Regions from separate parts of the Homo sapiens genome. Here all the other regions are linked to region 1. The links are contacts of gene promoters, found by promoter capture Hi-C in blood cells and fetal thymus (Javierre and others, 2016). All regions are on one chromosome and are shown on one strand. The core of a region is centred on a gene start or on the middle of the fragment in contact, and the rest is flanking DNA. Distances in the headings are between cores, read along the strand shown. Region 1 holds the start of CAMK2D (calcium/calmodulin dependent protein kinase II delta). Region 2 overlaps ANK2 (ankyrin 2). Region 3 overlaps LOC105377374 (a long non-coding RNA gene). Region 4 has its middle 94 kb from the start of ARSJ. Region 5 overlaps CAMK2D (calcium/calmodulin dependent protein kinase II delta). Region 6 has its middle 200 kb from the start of ARSJ. Region 7 overlaps CAMK2D (calcium/calmodulin dependent protein kinase II delta).

Region 1 (2,948 bases), core at 155-2,654:
AAGGTTTTTATAGTCCCGTGCTGTAGAACAATTGGCAGTAATTTGAAAAAGACCGTCCATAACGCTGTTTTTGGTCTGCGGCTAAATTTGCAATTGCATAGTTTCATTAAGGAGAACTGGAAAGAGGGCCCAGAAGTTGTTCTAGCAATCGGCAGCAGTTTATCTATTTTAAATCGTAATGCATACTTTTTTTTTCCTCCTACTGAAAACAATGGCAGATATGCTAAAGGGAAGGACACATTCTTGAACTGCTAAATGGTTTTTCCAGATAGCCATTTACGGAGTGCACTCAATTGCCACTATCTGGCTGAAAGCAAAAGCACACACGACGGCCCCTTTTCTTTTTTCCCTTTGCAAAGCGAAACAGTCTAGACGTGTTCACGTGATGTGAATGACGTCAGCCCCCGCCGGGTCGCGTGACCGACACCCAGCCTTCCTACTACCTCCCCCTGACCGCCAGAGTGGGAAATATCGCGAGAATTCGCCTTACTATCAGAACTTACTGAGGTTGCAGGGGAGTTACTCAGAAGGGAAGGGAAGGTGTGGTTGTGCGGCGGAGTTTTTGCTTTCATTCTTTTAACGTTCACAGCCAAAGCAAAGGCCTTTGGGGATTGCCAGAGTCTCAGCCACCATCCTGGAAAACAGCGGGGGAGGTGGGCCTGGAGGTGGCAAGTGTAATGTGGCTCAGGGGCCGTCATTGCCCCTTGCAGAAGGGGCTGCGGGGGAGGGAGAAAACCTGCGCCCGGTTCTGGGGAGCTGGCGACGCAGTGAACCCTGCTGAGGCTGGGTTTTGCCCCGACAGTCGCTGGTGGCTGTGGGAAGGGTTGGGACCCTTCTCTGAGAGCAGTGAACAGCCCACATCCGGCCCCTGCTGTGTCAACTCTGAGCGGCGTGGAGATGAAGTGGTTGCTCTCCCTTGCTCGGCCCACCGGGTGTCGTGGCCCGGGAACCGGCCTGGAGAAGTCCCTGCTGCCCGGCGCCCAAAACAGGGGCGTGGGCTTCCGCGACCCAGGGCGGCTGCCCCGGGCCATCCTCGAGTTGCCCTGCATCTTCCCGCTCAGTCAGCCCCAGATTGAGGCAGCCTTCTCTGTGCGGGTTTAAATGGGTAACTGTGACTTCTCGCCTCATTCACCCAAACCTCCAGTCTTCTCCCCCGCACATCCTCCTCCACCCACCTGGTTTCTCCCTAGACTGGTGTGCTCGTGTGTGCAACCAAAGGAGGGAGTGCGAGAGATCCACGAAGGGACAGGCTTGGAGTCGCTAGAGGGAGGTGTGGGACCAGCGAGGAGGGGGCTTCGCCAGGGAGGGGGTGCTGGCAGGCGGAGGGAGCGGCGGGAGGAGGCGCCGGAGGAGGAGACGGAGGCCTGGGGACGGCAGAAGAGGCTTCGCCTGAGCCGAGCGCTCTTTCTCTCGCCGCGCCGTCTTGAAGCCGCGCGGGCTCGTGAGCAGCGCGAGGCCGCCAAGGTGCCTCGCTTCGCCGGAGCCGCTGCCGCCCGCCGGAGGGAAGCCGGCCTCGGGCGCGCACGCTCGTCGGAGCCCCGGCGCGCCCCGCGCCTGAGCCTGCTGACAGCGGCCGCTGGGCTCAGGCTGTCCGCTCTGGGCTCCGCGGCCTCGGCCCCGCTGCACTCCACCTCCGCCCCCTCGGACTCCCTCCCCTCTGCTTCTACTCCTCCTGCTCCAGTGCGGATCGTTTCGCAACTGCTTGCCACTCGTCCCGTGCCTGGCTGTTTTTCCATTTCCCGGCCCCCTCTTCTTGAGTACTTTACCCCCTGCATTTGGGGACAGGGACTGGAAAAGGGGCGGGTGGAGCGTCCAGTGGAGAAGAAGGAAGCGAGGCCCGCAGGAGGAGGAGGATCGGCGGACTGTGGGGAGGAGACCCCACGCCACCCTTTCTGGTCATCTCCCCTCCCGCCCCGCCCCTGCGCACACTCCCTCGCGGGCGAGCTACTTTCGGACCAGGAAAGTAAGAGCGGCCCTGGGTGACAGCGCCGCGGGGCCAGTCCCGGGGTTAGCCGCGCGTCTGCTCGCTTCTGGTCCGTCGCGCTCCCAGCCAGGGCACAGCCCGGACCGAGGATGGCTTCGACCACAACCTGCACCAGGTTCACGGACGAGTATCAGCTTTTCGAGGAGCTTGGAAAGTAAGCACCTTTGCCCGGCATCCGCATATCCCCTTTCCAGCTGAGGGCGGGTCGCGTTGCCCCCGACCCACCGGCCTCCGTCTTGGGGCGAGGGAGTTTGGGAGAGGAATGGGAGGAGGGCCCCTGGTTTGTCAGCTCTGGGGAAGGTGCTGTCTTAATAAAGGGAGGGAGCACAGAAGGGGTAGGACCCTTACTCCAACTGTGGCTCATTTTGATGGTCCCTAGCCCACCTTCTCCCGGTCCCCCACCCTCCTGCACTGAGAGACTTAGTGAATTTACGATCTCTGCAGTTGTAGCTATCATCCTGAGAAGTGTGCGCGCGCGCCTGTGTGTAATGTGTGTTTGGAGAGGAAATTAGAACCCATGTAAAATGCAACATAGATCATGTTTTCTGTAAATAGAGATGCCTCCTGGTTAGCCGGCGTGTCGGCCGTATGACCCAGGTACTGATGAGAACTCACAGCCTCAGACGGTGCCATATTTATTGATGCCGAAAGTTCAACTTGGCATAGAGTCTATTTCGCATCCAGTAGTTGTTCTGTCCAGGAAAAGGGCCACCCAACAGAACCCAACCCCTTGCCCTATATCCAGTGTTGTTCTTTGCACCAGATTACCGCTCACCATCATTCTTCCTAGGATTTACGTGTGCATCTTTGCGTTCTCTGGGAGGATTTATTTATACAGGCAACGGAAAAGCCCTCTGGAGACTGAGAGCGCTCTTAAGCGTAGCCTAGCATTGTGTAAAACCACCTCCTTCACCCGACTGGCAGAACTACTTGGAGATGTTAGGGAAGGAGGCAGGAGACCTAC
Region 2 (2,724 bases), core at 4-2,503, 400 kb after region 1:
CAGAGGTTCCTGAATGTTGGTATATTCTCTAAATCTTCAAATAGAAAGTTCTATTATTCTAAATTTCAGAGATGATAAAAGGCCTGCCCTGGGCTATACCATTAGCTGATGCAGAGCCCAGGTTTTCTAGTTCTTAGTTTATTCTTCTTTTCATGTATTCTTTCTCAAGAAAGTGGGGGGTACCTTTTATGCTGTGAATGACACCTGACTGATGCATCTATGTCAGGTTTTGTTGAAAACCTGGGTCACATTCTTTTTACCTGTCCAGCTGAAGCCAAGGTGATCAGCAATATAAGCCAGCCTTTCCTCGATCCGTTCCTGCTCATCCTGTGGATCTGGAGAAGGTCAAAAACAGAATGGCCAAAGGTTGTCTATGACAGGAGAGGAACCACAGTACTGATTCATTCAAAGAAAGGAAGTCACTTCTCCAAATATTTGAAAGCACAAACTAGATACTACATTTCAGATCATATTGTGTGTCTGATTTCTGGGGTGGAATGGGGAATAGATCTAATATGAATCATGAAAACCATCTGCTTCCATATCTCTTTAATCAAGACTAGTTCTAGACATAATTATATAAGTTGCTGATTTCTAGTAATCTTATGACTTTTAAATTATTGGAGAGAATACTGCCCACCAAGAAGACCACCATCTTGTTCATGAAACACCAGAGAAATCATAAATGGGATGCAGAAGTAGAGCAATTGGCTAGGACCTCCTATTATTGCTTGTGGAGGGATAGATCATTTCCAGGTCATGTCTGAAAGGAATCACATCAGAGATTCACAAGAGATGTTGATCATGAGCTGATCAGGCCATCCTGATTAGTGTGGCCAGAAACAACATTTGGTCCTGGTGACCTTGGAGAAACGAGGATAAAAGCATATGCATTTTTATGTGTATATTGTATCTGTATGCATATATGTCTTTTGGGCAAAGTTTCTGCCTTCTTGCTATTAAGCTTATATACTACTCACTCCTATAAACTATAATTTTCCCATTCATGTTTAACTCCCACTGATTGATAGGCAGCATTTTAGACCATGGTATAGGAAAGTTTGTATAACCTCAATTTAAGAATGACAGTCTTCATTGTAGAGATATTGGAAGAACACAGGCTACTTTTCAAAGCCATCTATGGTTTCCTTTTTTATAAGTCAAAGAGCCATCATCCCCTCACAGTCAACTTAAACTGTGCAAAGTTTGAGTTTTTGTTGTCTGCTGCATCTAATGAGAGTACATTCTCCATTCATCTACCACATAAATGAAAAGCATATTTTTACCTTAGGTTTGTTTGCTTAAAGTATTTACCAATGGTATCTGAAATCCAACCTTTCTGAATCAAAAACAGATCCACAACAATTAGAATTTCATGTTATGTGAAATCTTCTCAAGCAAATGGCTTCCTAATGATTACAAAATTGTAAGTACAAATTATTTTAAAGTATGCGAAGATAAGAAGAAAAGCAATGTCTTCATACTATGAAACAAAATACAATATATTTATGTGCAAAAGTGCTTAATTTGAGTCTAAGCTTGGGACTTCAGAACAACAAAACTCAAAGCTCGCATGGCCTTATTACGTGCAGAGGCTAAAAAAGGCAAGATCACTGTTGCCCGGTTATTATGTTTATGTTTTCCATAAGCATTCTCATTACTCAATCTTGAGATTGTTTTCTTAGACAAGAGTATACAGAGAAAGCACAAAACACAAAGGGCTTACACAAACACATTAGCCACTACAGAAAGCTTAAAGAAAATGAGACACAAATCATCAAATAAAACAAACATACAAAAAAACTATATCAATTTTATGACATGCGTAGCACAGGGAATCCCGGTGGCTGGCAAATACCTTCAGCATGGTCATGGCCATTTTCATCAGGGATGCGTTCAATCAGAGTCTCAATAGACTCATCCCAAATGGGCCTTGTGTCAAAGATGTCCTCAGGAACTGAGTGCTCGGTCTCAACAGGTGGCAGATTTTCAATTACTGATACTTCCAGGGCACTACTACTTTCATCGTCTGAAACTATTTCCTGCTCCCTCTCTGACTGTGTCAGCCTATCCACTAATTTGGAAGCCTCATCACTAATCTCCTCAAAGAATTCTATGGAATTTCTGTAAAGGTCAAAGAAATGCTCCTTACTTTCTTTTGTGGGGCTCGTGCCCCCCCTGCAGGAAGATGTAGTGCTTCTGCTCTTAACTGGCAATCGGGATGTAAGTATCTTTGGTCTTGTGGCCCCTTCTTCTGATTCTAACTCAAGTTCCTCGGCCCTCTCTCTGCTCTCTGTTTCTGTCTCAGTGTAACTTCGGGTTTTTACTGGGCATTTGGTCTTTGAATCCAAAGAACTAGCATCAGATTCAGATTTGCTTCTATTATCTGGTGCGATGCTTGCCATGTCCTGTCCCTGAGGAGCCACTGTCTTCTGGACAGAGGTGTCTAGATCTGAGAGCTGCTGTTCAACTCTTTGGAGGGGTACTTTGACAGGGAGTTTGGACTTTGGTTTTGCTTCATCCGCCTTATTTTCCTCATCTACACTGGATAGAAAATCTTCAGAAACTGAACTCTCATACTCTGCAGATGGAGGTGCTGGGGTGGAAGTGGGCATAGTCCTTACAGGAATTTTGGATTTGCTTTCAGTAAAAGGCACATTCTCCATGGGTGCAGTAGGAATCTCGATTACTGATTTCTGTTCTTCTGGGGAAGAATCGGGAGAA
Region 3 (2,755 bases), core at 230-2,729, 370 kb after region 1:
TGCATATTTCTACTTTCTCTTTTACCTCTTGATGATGTTACTAGCCATTATCAATATTATTATTTCAAAAGGTAACTCTTAGATATATTTTGCATTTTCACATTTTTATTTCCTACATTAAAACCTTCATAAATTGAAGGTTTCTATTTATCTCAATATATATAATATGTGGCATGTTCTCTTAAGTTTGCCATAGGCCAGCCCCTCTCCTGATTTTCTATGTTCAGACAATTCACATATTATTTTCCTGTCTGGCTACTCTCAGCACAGGAATTAGAACCCTAGTTTGAAGCTTTTAGTTTTCTTCTGACCTCTGTTTAGCCATATCTCATAGTTTCTAATATGTTTACTGTTCAGCATTTTTTGAAGCCACACTGCAGGAAGATTGAGTAATGAAAAACTAGGAAAGCATATGTAGAAAAAAAGGCAAAGGAAAAGAGAGAGAGAAAGAGAGCATTAGTTAGGTGTAAAGACAGGATTCAGGGATAAATCTATTTTTCTCATAAGCTGTGCTCACAGGCTGGGAGAGAAAGCCATCATCAGTGAGCACACCATGACAGAGCAAGGCCGCAGGAGATGGGGAGGGGACAGCAAGAATGTCTTTGTCCGTTTGGGATGCTGTAACAAAATACCATAAACTGGACAGCTTGTAAACATAGACATTTATTTCTCACAGTTATGGAGACTGTGAAATCCAAGGTCAAGATGCCAGCAGATTTGGTGTCTGGTGAGGGCCCATTTTCCAGTTCATGGATGGCACCTTCACTGTGTCCTCGCATGGCAGAAGTAACTAGCTAGCTCTCTGGGGTCTCTCTTATAAGGATGCTAATCCGAATCATGAAGGTGAAGCCCTGCCAAAGGCCCCACCTCTTAATACTATCATGTTGAGGGTGGAGGATTTCAACATATGAATCACCTCCCAAAGGCCTCACTTCCTAATACCATCACATTGCAAGGGTGATTTTAACATACGAATTTTGAACATAATATTTAGACCATAGCAAGGACACAGGCCATAAATCCAGGAGACAAGAGAGCATTCTTTGTGAGAACAATGAGTAGTAGGGTTCACGTAAATACAGACAATTTTGGAGGTAGTAATAGAAAAGGCATTTGTGATGGCTAATTTACGTGTTAACTTGACTGGGTCATGGGGTGCCCAGATATTTGGTTAAACCCTATTCTGGGTATGTCTGTGAGTGTGTTTGTAGAATGAGATTAACATTTGAATGGGTGAACTGAGTAAAGCAGACTGCCCTCCCTAATACAGGTGGGCCTCACCCAATCAATCAAAGACCTACATAGAACAACAACAAAAAGAAAATAAAAGAAACTAAGACAAAACTTCTGCTTGACTGCCCTTCAGCTATTAGTTTTCTTGCCTTCAGACTCAAACGGAAACACTGGCTCTTCTTGGATCTCAAGCCTGCCTTCAGACTGAATCTATATCAGCTCTGCTCACTCTGCTGAGTGCAGATCTTGCGACTTCTCAACCTCCATCATCATGTGGAACAATTCCTTACAATAAATCTCTTTATATATGTGTGCACACACACACACACACACACACACAGGCATGCATGCACACAGGCACATACACACTATTGGTTCTGTTTTTCCAGAGAACCCTAATATAGCATTGTAGTAATTCATGCCCATTGACATCTACTTTCTTATAAAACAGCGTCAAGTTCATCTGCCAAATGTGAAGCAGATAAGGAAGAGAAAATGGGCTTGAGAAGCAAGAAAGAGATTTTTCAGAATAGTAATGACAAAGTTACTGAATAAGGTCTGTTTCCCTTTATAAATATATTTTTCCAGAAGAAGAAGAATTTTTTCCGGAAGAAAAGTAATTTTTAATTAATTGTTAAATGATCAGTTCAATATGTCTCTGCTGCAAGATTATAAATCCAAAGGGAAGGGTCTGTGTTTTTCAAAGATGGAGTGTTGTTTATTGTTGGTGCCATTTGCTTGAGTTCTTATCCCAGCTTTGTCGTTTTCTCTCTGCATGATTTGGGGCATGTTATTCAATTTCTTTTCCCCTCAGTTTCCTCACCTGGATCTGTTTCCTAGGATTGTGATGGAGATGAAAGAAGAGCATTGAATAGTAACTGGCAATAGTGAAAACTCAGCAAAAGTGACCCATTGGGCCATGATCTTGGCCCAGTCTACCCTGAGCACTATAGCACAATGTTTAAAATATAGTAGGTCTTGAATTGCATGCATTTGTGGATGGATGAAGACTGTTATTCTCTGGCTTAGCCACTGTGATTGATTGTTAGCAGCTGAGCATTATTTTGGACCTATTCTACATTCTTCCCTGCATGTTGGGGGAAGAGCCTCAGGTATACATTTTTTGGAATCCCTTTCCAGTGGGGTTATGTATTTGATTTTGCCGATGAAAGTTGTTTGCCCAAGATTTGAAAAGGAAAGAGAAGAAAAATGATTATACCTTTGGGAGCAGCTGGGGAGAGGTGCATGGACTCTGGCAGAAGACACATGGAGTGTTTTTGCAGCCATATATGGGCTATCTCCTAAGAAACATATACTTTGCTGCTACATGAATCTGAGCCCTTCAGTGGCAGCTTGGATTTCTGATTTCTGCACTGGTGGATTTCTTCGTAGCAGTAGTAGCTCCTCAGTGTGAAAGGAAAATAAAAGCTTGGGACCCCCAATGCACTATGCCACAAGGAAAAAATTAAGCTGAAAGCTGAGTCAAGCAAGACACTGACTTTCCTTTTGTTTCTAAGCAGAT
Region 4 (2,884 bases), core at 54-2,553, 310 kb before region 1:
TTTATTATTTTATTTTATTTTATTATTTTATTTTATTCATTTCATTTCATTTCATTATTTCATTTCATTTCATTTCATCATTTCATTTCATTTCATTTCATTTCATTTCATTTTATTTTATTTTGAGATGGAGTTTCATTCTTCTCACCCAGGCTGGAGTGCAATGGCATGATCTTGGCTCATTGCAACCTCTGCCTCCCAGGTTCAAGCAATTCTCCTACCTCAGCCTCCTGAGTAGCAGAGATTACAGGCATCCACCACCATGTCTGGCTAATTTTTGTATTTTTAGTGGAGACAGGGTTTCACCATGTTGGCCAGGCTAGTCTTGAACTCCTGACCTCATGTGATCTTCCCACCTCAGCCTCCAAAAGTGCTGGGATTACAGGTGTGAGCCACCGTGCCTGGCCAATGTGTGGCTTTATTTCAATGGTCTCTTTTTGGTTTACTTTTGAACTAGGTACAGGAAAAGCATTGAATCTGTAGATTGTTTTCAGCAGCTTGGACATTTTAACAATATTGAATCATCCAATCCATAAGCATAGAATCCATAAGCTTTTCCATTTGTTTGTGTCATCTATAATATTTTCAGCAGTATGTTCTACTCCTCATTGTGGAAGTCTTTCACCTCCTGGGTTAAATGTAATACCAGGTATTTTATTTTTGCATGTGGTTACTGTAAGTGGTTTTGTGTTCTTGATTTGGTTCTCAGCTTGAACATTATTGTTGTATAGACATGCTACTGATTTTTATCCATTGAGTTTGTATCCTGAAACACTGCCAAATTCATTTATCAGGGCTGGGAGTCTTTTGGCAGAATCTTTAGGGTTTTATGGATAAAGAATCATATTGTCAGTGACGAGAGATAATTTGATTTCCTCTTTTTGTATTTAGATGCCTTTTATTTGTATTGCCTGCCTGATTGCTCTGGCTTAGCTCTTCGATACTAAGTTGAATACTATTATGTAATGAGTGGAAAATCTTGTCTTTTCCCAGTACTTATGGAGAATGCTGCCAGCTTTTGCCCATTCAGTATGATGTTGGCTGTGGGTTTTTCATAGATCATTCTTACTATTTTTAGATTTGTTTCTTCAATGCCTAGATTGTTGAAGGTTTTTATTATGAAAGGATTTTGGATTTGTCAAATGCTTTCTTGCATCTATTGAATGATTATATGGTTTTAGTTTTTAATTTGTTTTATATGGTGAGTCACATTTACTGATTTGCCTATGTTGAACCATCCTTGCATCCCAGAAATAAAGCTGGCTTGTGGTGATTTAACTTTTTGATATGTTACTGGATTAAGTTTGCTAGTATTTTGTTGAGGATATTTGCATCTATGTTCATCAGAGGATTGACCTATAGTTTTCTTTTTTGTTGTGTCTCTGCCATATTTTGGTATCAGGATGATACTGGTTTCACAGAATGAGGTTGGGAGAAGTTTCTCCCCCTTTATCCTAGTTTCAGTAGGATTGTTTCCAGTTCTTCCTTGTACATCTGGTAGAATTTGGCTATTAATCCATATGGTCCAGGGCTATTTTGCTTAGTAGGTTACTTATTACCAATTCAATTTCATTAATAGTTATTAGTCTGTTCAGAATTTAATTTTCTTCTTGGTTCTATCTTAGGAAGTGGTATGTTTCCAGGAATTTATCCATTTCCTCTAGAATTTCTAGTTTGTGTGCATAGACATGTTCATAGTAGTCTCTGAGGATCTTTTGTATTTCTGTGTGATTTGTTGTGATGTCACATTTGTCATTTCTGATTGTGCTTATTTGGATCTCTTGTCTTTTTTTCTTTGTTAATACAGCCAGCGGTCTATCAATCTTGTTTATCCGTTCAAAAGGCAACCAACTTTTTATTTTATTGAAACTTTGTATGATTCTATTGGTCTGAATTTCATTTAGTTCTGCTCAGACTTTAGTTATTTCTTTTCTTCTGCTAGGTTTGGGGTTAGTTTGCTCTTGTTTTCCTACTTTCTTCAGATATGAGGTTAGGTTGTTAATTTGAGATCTTTCTATCTTTTGATGTAGGCATTTTTAGCACTATAAGCTTTCCTCTTAACACTGCTTTTGCTGCATTCCAGGGGTTTTGGTATGTTGTGCCTCTATTTTCATTTGATTCAAAGAATTTTTACATTTCTGCCTTAATTTTGTTGTTTACCAAAAAGTCACTCAGAAACAACTTGTTTAGTTTCCATGTATTTGTGTGGCTGCAAGAGCTACTCTTGGTATTGATTTCTATTTTTATTCCCTGTGGTCTTACAAGATGGTTGTTATGATTTCAATATTTTAAAATTTATTAAGACTTGCTTTATGACTGAGCAGGTGGTAATCTTAAAGTATGTTCCATGTGCAGATAAGAATAATATGTATTCTGTGGTTGTTGGGTGGGATAGTCTGTAGATTTCTATTAGATCCAATTGGTCAAGTCTTGAATTTAAGCCCAGAATTTTTTGTTAGTTTTCTGCCTCAGTGATCTGTCTAATGCTGTCAGTGAGGTTTTGAAGTTCCCCACTATTATTGTGTAACTGTCTAAATCTTTTCTTACGTCTGGAAGTCATTGTTTTAGAAGTCTAGGCCCTCCAAATTTGAGTCTATATATATTTAGGATAATTAAGTCTTCTTGTTGAGTTGAACATTTTATCATTATGTAATGCCTTCTTGTTTTCTTTTCTCCTGTTGTTGGTTTAAAGTCTACTTTATCTAATATAAGAAAAGTGGCCACTCCTCCTTTCTGTTTTCCATTTGTGTGATAGATCTGTCTCTATCCCTTTGCTTTGAGCCTGGGGGTGTCATTACATGTAAAATGGGTCTCTTGAACACAAGAGAAGGATGGATCTTGTTTTTTTTTATCCAATTTGCCAATCTATGTCATTTAAGTGGAG
Region 5 (3,124 bases), core at 97-2,596, 260 kb after region 1:
TACTGACCTAATAGTATCACCATAAGCTTTAATTCTAAAGGTAGTGTTAATACAATAAAGTCTTGTAAAGTTGTATTCATATTTTAGAATAAAGGATTTGGAAATTCTCAGGTCAAGGAGACGTGGGGTCAATTTAGGAAATAAAAATGGCTGTAGATCACAACTTGGCAGTCAGCTCTGCTGACTTTTTCCTTTTTGTTTGAATAGAACAGCTGATGCTGTTAAAGTGTACTCTCTATTTATATAACTAAGCACACTGACCTAACTCTGCTAGAGGTAGTCAGTCATTTTTTACAGTGGAAAGGTAGATAGCTGTGTCAAGAATTTTATTTAGTAGGTCTATTCATCTCACTCTTTGCACTTAAGCTAAAATTTGAACTGAAGTAGTTTTATGAATCATTGATACCAGTCATATTAGATAAAAATATTCTTTTTTTTTAGCCAAATAAATAGATATGCCATTTAGCTTTCCCACTGATTCAGGAAGCATTATCTTTGTGTTTTGGATTCATTAGCTCTTTAAGCTAAGCTAAATGTTTCATATGAATTTTCACATTCTTCCCTTGAGCAAGACTAAGAAAACTTGTTCATTGTCCACTGGAGAAACTGAATCTTTAAATAACCAAATAAAATTAGGAGAATACCAGCACCTTACTATATGCAGTTCATCTGCCAAGGAACGTAATCATGAGAAGGGTTTTAATAAGTGGTCTTTCTCACCTGAATTTGGCACTCAACTGTACTAAGTATTGGTTCAGGATCATTGCTATTAATCTATGTAAACATTAATGTATAAACAGAGTTCCTGTCAGTGTTACCTTGTAGTTTGTAATTTATTTTTGATAAAATGAAATAATAATATCAGTTCTTAGAAAACAGTTCTCCAATTCAAATCATAACAATGATATGGGTTTCATCTTGCCTCTGGGATTTCATAAATTGAGATAGTATTTGTATTTATAATTACATTGAGTCTGTATACAAGTATTAGAGGAATTCAGCATCATATTGAGATCAAAAGAAATGTCCAGTTGATCGTTTAACCCAAAGTGCTTAGCTTTATTACCTTAATAAATACATTATTTAAGTTTCTGCTTAATTTTGCTGGTGTGGATCTGGCCAAAAATGTCATAACCATAGCCCATTAGGACTCATTTGTGTTCTCTGTAAGACCCAGACAGCCTTCTGGAGACTAACCCTTTTAATATTGAATGATATCAGAAACCTTTAAGACTAGAAGACACTTTGAAAGATTGCCTAGGCCCCATCATTTTTACTGGGACAAGTGGTAGATAAAATGGTCTTAAGTGATTTTAAATTATTTATTATGCTGATGATCTGTTTGTGTGGGAATCTCTCCATTTATCAGTGCATGGTCCTCAAGAAAGACCCTATATGTGAATAATTATGCTCTCTTATTTTTACTTTAGAATTGCTGTGGCTCTCAGTAGCTTGGTAGGGAATGTGTTTATTGTCCAGCTCTGTTGAAACCAAAATTTACCTATATCTAACATTCTATAACTAACATCCAAGAACTCACAATTACTATCAGTTAAATAATCTGACCAAAACTGTATCCCATCTACAAAACCATGTCATATCTACAAAACTGTGTCTTCCACACACATACTTTTCAACCTTCTCTTTTCTGTAGACAACATTGTGATCAGTGAGACACCACACTTTTTGACATATTCTTAAAGGCATACCCCCATACATACTTCTGCATGCGAGCACTTGCTCTACCCATTGCTGCTGGCTGTCCCAGCTATAGTGCATCTAACACCAGCACCTAGACTTACATTGTTTTATGGTGGTATATGATTCCTTGAATACCATGTCACATGCCTCCCATACCAAGGCAGTGCACATTCTGCCCCATCCCCAAGGACTAACCTGGCAGGGACAGCTTCTGTGTCCTCTCCAATGTAAAGAAACATGGAGTTGCTGGAGGAGGGGATTAAACACTGTGGTAACCCGGTCAAAGGAAGAAATGAGGTAAACTAACAACAAAGTTTTTCTTTCTGGCGTCTTTGAATGGGAAAAGGCAGACAAGGCCAGCTGTTCTCAAAGAAAGATAAAAGAAAGCAAAAGTAGTCAGAGATTAATGGTTCCTCAGTCTGGAGCACCTTAGAAAGCCAAGATTTAAAGGCCCATTTTCCTTCAGCTCTTCTAATTAGTTTCCATTGAGAAATCATGTCCCCAGTCTGTGTAATACTTTTGAATTGTGTCTAGGCTGTTTCTTCATTCAGCAAATATTTATTGAATCCCTTCTCTTTACCTGACTTCCATGTGCTTCTCTTTTTGAACTAGCCATGTTCAAGAGATTTGAATGCACCAGAGTCAAAATGCTGTTTCCTACCCTTTATATGAATCTTGTTATGCTATAATGTAGGCCCATTTATCTTACTTAATACAATAACTATCAAGAAAAATTAGTGAAACCCAACATATATGCATGTTTTACCTAAAAAAAAAAAAACTCAGTGAAACCCAGGAAAAAAGTGAGACCCAAAATAAATACATTTTTTTAAATCTAAAAGTTCTTTTATTTCCTTTTTCTTAAAAACCTTCAACATTTAGCTCTAACCACATTTTTCTTCCCAAGCTCGTAATCATCCCAAGGGACTGGCATTGTTTTACAACTCTTCTTTTTAAAAAGCTTCCAGAGTTCATTGTTTTCTTTCTCCAAGGCAATGTGTTGACACCCTAGTGTTGACCTCTTGAGCAGCTTTCTAATTTTGTTCAGTGTTTAAAACCAAATATTATCTCTGATGATGCTATGTCAGGAAACTCAGCAGCAAACTCAGTGTCATGGAGAGTTACTAATAGTTTAAAAGCAAATGGGAGTCTGGGAGTGGTGGCTCATACCTGTAATCCCAGCACTTTCGGAGGCTGAGGCAGGCAGATCCCTTGAGGTCAGGAGTCCAAGACTAGCCTGACCGACATGGTGAAACCCTGTCTCCACTAAAAATACAAAAATTAGCTGGGCACTGTGGTACGCGCCTGTAATCCCAGCAACTCGGGAGGCTGAGGCATGAGAATCACTTGAACCCGGTGGGTGGAGATTGCAGTGAGCCGAGATTGTGCCTCTGCACTCCAGCCTGGGTGACAGAGTGAGACT
Region 6 (2,951 bases), core at 154-2,653, 420 kb before region 1:
GTATTATATATATTCTCCAGATATTTTAAAGATAATTTAATTTTACATAGTATATGTTTTCTCTGTAATAAGATAATTACCCTTATTATCTTCTCTGTGACTATTTTTCCACCATTTGGGTTACTCAATTATACTGAATAAAAAATTTGAATACTGTAGTTCTCTATTTGAGGAATGAATTTTTGTCAAAATATCTGAGAGAGTCCTCAGTCAATCCCCATCCTTTTTATGAGAAGTTATTTTTCATTTCATTCAGTTCAACTGAAAATTGAGAGGCAAGGGGTGTTGAGCACTGACTTGGAACTCATAAACTGTGGAGAGTCCAATGTGGACAAATTATGTGCTTGGACCAAGCCAGAAAGAAGCCAATGTTGATGGCTGCATTTTCTTCTCCATTAGGAACCTGAGTAAGTCAAAGAGAAAGCAGGCATAGATGGGATAGACAGAGATCATGTATGTGTTCATTTTGATAATTTTTTGTGGAAAAGTAATTGGCATTTCAGAATAACAATTCTGTAGTTAATCTATACCTCTAGGGAAACTCACAATTTAGCCCTTCAAAAGATTTGAACCATTATAAAGTCAATTTCTTGTGCTAATCACCAGTCTTTGAACAGATAACTTCAGTATAATTCTGAACATCAAAGTCAGTAGATAGGAAATTGAACTTATTAGACTAATGTAATTAATCAAACATAGTACTGGAAAAACATTTACTCTTGTAAAAGTCACTCCAGGCTACCTCTTTATGTGCCATTCTAGCTCTAGTTCTTGAGATGAGATTTTTTTTTAATAAATAAAATAATTCAAGTAATGAAAAATTCTGTGGACAGCAAATTGTCAAATTAGAAATTAGTCTTGTTCATCTTGTTTTATGCAAATGAATGATGTTATCTTCCAAAAATTATATTGAAAGTATTTTTTCTAACATCCTTGAGAAATAGCTGGCCAAGCACAATCTGACAGTTCCTTTCTCTCCCTATTCTGCTCAGAGTCAGCCCAACTTGCATTTTGAGTGAACCCTATTTAGTCCTTGAAGATCACAGGGCTCCGAAACATGTCTGAAGCTTCCATGCCAGAGAAAATGGGGCAGTCAACGCCAGCAGATGGCAGCATCATTGGACGCAGCCCCTACTTGCTGCGTCCCACAAGAGGGCTCATGACTCAGAAGTCTGGGAGGAGGTCGACCTTCCTAGCAGCAACTGAGCAAACATTTTTAATTTCACAGCTACTAGAGTATCCCTGAACAGAATGCTGGACGGACTCTCTTAGCACACTCAGATGAACCACCCCAACCTGCTCACAAGGTATACCCTGCTAAACTAATTCTTGATCAGACAAAGCAAGTGCTTATGGCAGTATTAAAGCAGGAATTCTGAGAAAAATGAGAAAATTAAATTATTGACTGTATTTGAGATATCCAGTTGTGTGCTACAGAATGACAGTTCTATCAATGATAGCCCGTGTACACTACAGTGGTCTCATAAGACTATAATATTGTATTTTTACTACCCCTTTTCTATGTTTAGATACACACATACTTAGCGTTGTGTTACAACTGCCTGCAGTATTCAGTACAATAATGTGCAGTACAGGTTTTTAGTTTAGGAGGACACTCATTCAAGGACACTCATCCCCCTTCCAAAAAATAGGCAGTGGAGGCACCTGAAAAGGGTCTGAACAGACATCCTCCCTCATCTTCCAATAAGAAGGCCTCTGAATGGAGGCACTTAAGCTTGGAATGCAGGAATACCTATGAGCATGATCACTGGGGTAGGGGAGGTGCTGGGAGGCTGAGTCCTCCAATGCAACTCCCTCCAGAGACAGCAATGCACTAATTATACACCAAGCTTGAACTGTGCAGGGCAGCTTTCTACCCATTACCATGGCCAGGTAAAGCCTTTGTAATTTCTATTAGAATTGCGGCCTAGATCCAAACTTCTCAGTTATAAATAAAAATTACTGTGTTTTCACCTTTGCTTACATCTGTTATGCATGTACGAGTGTGTGTGTGTGTGTAATTAATTTTCCTCTATTGTGTTAAGTAGGGATCTACCATATGTTATTAAATATAGGACTCTAAGAGTATTATTTTAATTTATATACTTCTAAGAAAGAAAAGAAAATGCTTCCAATTAAACTATGACTCTCCACCAACTGTAAGAAATTTCAGAAATGTTAAATATGAAAAGAAGTAGTGTTAGAATCAATGAAATGTAGTAACTTTATCTATTTTATTTCAAGTTGACAATCAATGGTCTTTCTACCACTAATTGAATACCTCACACTTTTCTCACCTACATGAAATTTTTCTAAATAAATTATATTTTCACGTAAACATAGGTTTTCTGGACTCTCTATTTAGTTCTATTAGTCTTTCCATCAATTATTACATGAATAACATCCTATCTCAATTCCCATCTTTTACTTTGGTTAGAATTGACATCATTAGAATATCAACTTTTCTAACAGACATTTAAATTGTTCCAATTTTTTTGTACTTACAGACAACGCAAATTTAAATTCATACAAATTCATTTTGTATTAAGGTTACATTTCTGAAGGTGAAATTGTTTATCAAAGGATATAAAATTTAATTTTAATAGATATTGCCAGATTTCTCTCCAAAAATTGGATTAACTTAATGTTCCACCAATTGTGTATAGCTATATTTGTTTCTCCACACCTTTATTAACACTAAATATAATAAAATGTAAAAATAATTGCTGCTAACCTGGTAGTTTCAAACTAACATTTTATTGTGGCTTTATTTGCATCTTCCTAATCATATGTGTAACTGAGAAGCTTTTCGTATTCTATTGGTGAATTATAATTCTTTTTTTAGATTCATTTTGCATAATTTGTCATTCATTGCTAATTCTTCTCTTCCCCTAGCTGACCAACATTTTACCAATATGCAACTTTGTTTCCCCTTAGTAAGGAAACCTTTT
Region 7 (2,950 bases), core at 118-2,617, 280 kb after region 1:
AACTCCATTGCCATCACTCTAACTTAAGATATAATCATCTTTTGCTGATATTATTGACATAGCTTCTTAGCCATTGACCTGCTTCTGCTTACAGTCTATTCTCAACAGAGAATAGAGTTACACTTTCAAAAATACATTAGATCATGTGCTGCTCTTGCTCTGTATTCTCCAGTGGCTGCCAAAGACATCAGAATCTATTAAAAGGCCTACCATGACCAGGGCTCCTTCAGACATGCCTTGCCTTGCCATCTGACTTAATGTCCTATTATTATATGTGCATCAGGAACACTGTTTCTGAAATGTATCAAGCAGGTTCCTGCCACAGGGCCTTGCACTTACTATTCCATGTCTGGTATGTCCTGATACACATTTCCATGTGGCTTACTGCCCTTTCTCTTTTTAAGTCTCTGACCAAATGTTATCAAAAGTTACCCTCTCTGTGAGATCTTTTACTACCTTATTTTAAATTACATCCCTCCAGACTGGGCATGGTGGTTCATGCCTGTAATCCCAGCACTTTGGGAGGCAGGCAGATCACTTGAGGCCAGGAGTTTTTGAGACCAGCCTGGCCAACATGACAAAACCCCATCTCTACTAAAAATACAACAAAATTAGCCAGGTGTGGTGGTGCATGCCTGTAATCTCAGCTACTTGGGAGGCTGAGGCACAAGAATCACTGGAACTTGGGAGGCAGAGGTTGCAGTGAACTGAGATGGCACCACTGCACTCCAGCCTGGGCAGCAGAGTGAGACTCTGTCTCAAAAAATAAAATAAAATGAAAATTTACATCCCTCCAAATCCAGCACTCCCCATTCTCCTGTTTTACTTTTCTCTTTATATTTATTATCTGAAATATCTATTTTACTTGTTTCCTGTTCCTCTTCCCCCTACTAAAATGTAAGTTTCTGTAGAGCAGAGATTTTTGTCTGTTTTGTTTATAGCCATATTCATAGTATCTAGAATAGTGTTGGGCAATAGTGGGAATAATAAATATTTAATTGGTAGAGGAAGGAAGCATAGTGGATACCAACCATGACATGTCCTAGCAGCCACTAAAATGATCGGAATTCTCCTGAAATTGTGATCAGTTTACAACTTTTTCTGTGTAGGTTTTTGTACATATAATTACCTCGCTCCATAATTTAGGAGTTAAAAACACCGAAAATGCATGTTTTAAAAGTGTCTTAGTCCATTTGTGATGCTATAACAAAATATCACAGACTGGGTAATTTATAAATAGTAGAAATTTATTTTTCACAGTTTTGGAGGCTGGAAAGTCTAAGATCAAGGTGCCAGCAGACTTGATGTCTGGTGAACGCTTGCTCTCTGCTTTAAAAATGGCACCTCTTGCTGTGTCTTCACATGGCAGAAGGAATGGAAGGGACTAGCCAATCCCTCAAGCCCTTTTTTTGTTTTTGAAGAGGAGTCTCACCCTGTCACCCAGGTTGGAGTGCAGTGGCACAATCTCAGCTCACTGCAACCTCCGCCTGCTAGGTTCAAGCAATTATCCTGCCTCAGACTCCCGAGTAGCTGGGATTACAGGCACCCGCCACCGTGCAGAGCTAATTTTTGTATTTTTAGTAGAGACAAGGTTTCACCATGTTTGCCAAGCTAGTTTCGAACTCCTGACCTCAAGTGATCCGCCCACCTTGGTCTCCCAAAGTGCTGGGATTACAGATGTGAGCCACTGCACCCGGCCCTCAAGCCCTTTTATAAGGGCACTAGTCCCCTTCTAATAACCACTCAAGGGCCCCACCTGTTAATACCATCAATGTTTGGTATTAAGGTGCAACATGGACTTTGTAGGGACGCATACATTCATATCATAGCATTAAGTCATAGGATGTTTTTTCCTATTGGAATGGAGGACGCGCTTTGGTGTCAAATATACTAGATTTGAATCCCAGCCCAGCTCTCCATTGAATATGCATTCTGACTGCTCATGTAAACCATTCTGAGTCATATGTACAATAGGGATAATAATATGTCAATGCTGGCCGGGTGCGGTAGTTCACGCCTGTAATTCTAGCACTTTGGGAGGCCGAGGCGGGCGGATTACCTGAACTCAGGAGTTCGAGACAAGCCTGGGCAACACAGTGAAACCCTGTCTCTACTAAAATACAAAAGAAATTAGCCGGTGTGGCGGCATGCACCTGTAGTCCCAGCTACTCAGGAGGCTGAGGCAGGAGAATTGCTGGAACCCGGGAGGCAGAGGTTGCAGTGAGCCAAGATCCCGCCACTGCACCCCAACCTGGGCGACAGAGTTAGACTCCATCTCTAAAACAAAAATAATAATAATATGTCAATACCTAACCATTTTTTACCTACAAAAGTAATTTCATATGGCTCAACCTGAAAATAATAATAACAATAAGAGAGCATACTCATGTTGAATAGTGATACAATCTATTAAATGCCTAGTATAATTCCTGGCCCATGATTTAAAACAGTCCATAAATCCAGAGAGAACTGTGTGTGTGTTTTTAAACATCGTTTCTATTTTCTGAAACATTTATTTTAGATAAGTAGGTATAAATGTTAAGACCCACATCCAGCCAACCTATGTGCATAAATACCCAAACTACATAAAGCTGCCCAAGTGCAGAAAACAAGTTCATTTTTGCTTTAAAATCGAAACTGATGGTTTTTTTAAAGTGTTTGTGAAGATGACGGTGTTCTTTTAACTCATTATGAATTTTAAACAATTAAAGTATTTTAGTTCACTACTTTTGGCCTCCATAGTACCATATAATAGGCACTTAATAGATTAATGAATTAATTATGAGGTTTCTACATTAATTCTGAGTTGAGACATATTTTGTACTTATTAAACATGTTTTAAGTAATAACTCAAAGTCATCCCTCATTTGAAGTAGTCCTTTTATCTCTGGATATGTTCAACTGTTTTGAAAAATTGGCTCAATTTTGCCTGTGTCTTGATTATCACTGC

The links. The method cuts DNA at HindIII sites, captures the fragments that hold promoters and counts their contacts. A CHiCAGO score of 5 or more calls a contact.
Region 2: a fragment that was not itself captured here is called in contact with the fragment with the promoter of CAMK2D in region 1 in 1 of 17 cell types (activated CD4 T cells); the score reaches 6.0 in activated CD4 T cells.
Region 3: a contact is called between a fragment that was not itself captured here and the fragment with the promoter of CAMK2D in region 1, in 1 of 17 cell types (activated CD4 T cells). The highest score is 6.1, in activated CD4 T cells.
Region 4: a contact is called between a fragment that was not itself captured here and the fragment with the promoter of CAMK2D in region 1, in 2 of 17 cell types (total CD4 T cells and non-activated CD4 T cells). The highest score is 6.9, in total CD4 T cells.
Region 5: a contact is called between a fragment that was not itself captured here and the fragment with the promoter of CAMK2D in region 1, in 2 of 17 cell types (total B cells and activated CD4 T cells). The highest score is 6.5, in total B cells.
Region 6: a contact is called between a fragment that was not itself captured here and the fragment with the promoter of CAMK2D in region 1, in 1 of 17 cell types (endothelial precursors). The highest score is 5.0, in endothelial precursors.
Region 7: a contact is called between a fragment that was not itself captured here and the fragment with the promoter of CAMK2D in region 1, in 4 of 17 cell types (M2 macrophages, activated CD4 T cells, M0 macrophages and 1 more). The highest score is 8.3, in M2 macrophages.

The regions. Positions count from the first base shown.
Region 1 is chr4:113,760,194-113,763,141 of GRCh38, reverse strand. It overlaps CAMK2D (calcium/calmodulin dependent protein kinase II delta), which reads left to right and starts at 1,404. Exons shown (of 21, transcript NM_001321571.2): 1 at 1,404-2,138. The coding sequence starts at 2,074. RefSeq lists enhancers at 137-675, 676-1,214 and a silencer at 1,208-1,617. The HindIII fragment of the contact is 14,700 bases long and covers 1-2,948 here.
Region 2 is chr4:113,358,434-113,361,157 of GRCh38, reverse strand. ANK2 (ankyrin 2) reads right to left here. Exons shown (of 46, transcript NM_001148.6): 38 at 1,859-2,724; 39 at 261-335. Among named protein-coding and RNA genes, the nearest start is that of MIR8082, 210 kb to the right of the region's middle. The HindIII fragment of the contact is 574 bases long and covers 967-1,540 here.
Region 3 is chr4:113,387,769-113,390,523 of GRCh38, reverse strand. It overlaps LOC105377374 (a long non-coding RNA gene), which reads left to right. Exons shown (of 5, transcript NR_199847.1): 5 at 2,074-2,755. Among named protein-coding and RNA genes, the nearest start is that of MIR8082, 240 kb to the right of the region's middle. The HindIII fragment of the contact is 2,369 bases long and covers 295-2,663 here.
Region 4 is chr4:114,072,559-114,075,442 of GRCh38, reverse strand. No RefSeq gene overlaps it. Among named protein-coding and RNA genes, the nearest start is that of ARSJ, 94 kb to the right of the region's middle. The HindIII fragment of the contact is 1,497 bases long and covers 555-2,051 here.
Region 5 is chr4:113,496,474-113,499,597 of GRCh38, reverse strand. The region is part of intron 16 of CAMK2D (calcium/calmodulin dependent protein kinase II delta); the gene reads left to right. Among named protein-coding and RNA genes, the nearest start is that of CAMK2D, 260 kb to the left of the region's middle. The HindIII fragment of the contact is 2,636 bases long and covers 29-2,664 here.
Region 6 is chr4:114,178,856-114,181,806 of GRCh38, reverse strand. No RefSeq gene overlaps it. Among named protein-coding and RNA genes, the nearest start is that of ARSJ, 200 kb to the right of the region's middle. The HindIII fragment of the contact is 668 bases long and covers 1,070-1,737 here.
Region 7 is chr4:113,479,308-113,482,257 of GRCh38, reverse strand. The region is part of intron 16 of CAMK2D (calcium/calmodulin dependent protein kinase II delta); the gene reads left to right. Among named protein-coding and RNA genes, the nearest start is that of CAMK2D, 280 kb to the left of the region's middle. The HindIII fragment of the contact is 7,236 bases long and covers 1-2,950 here.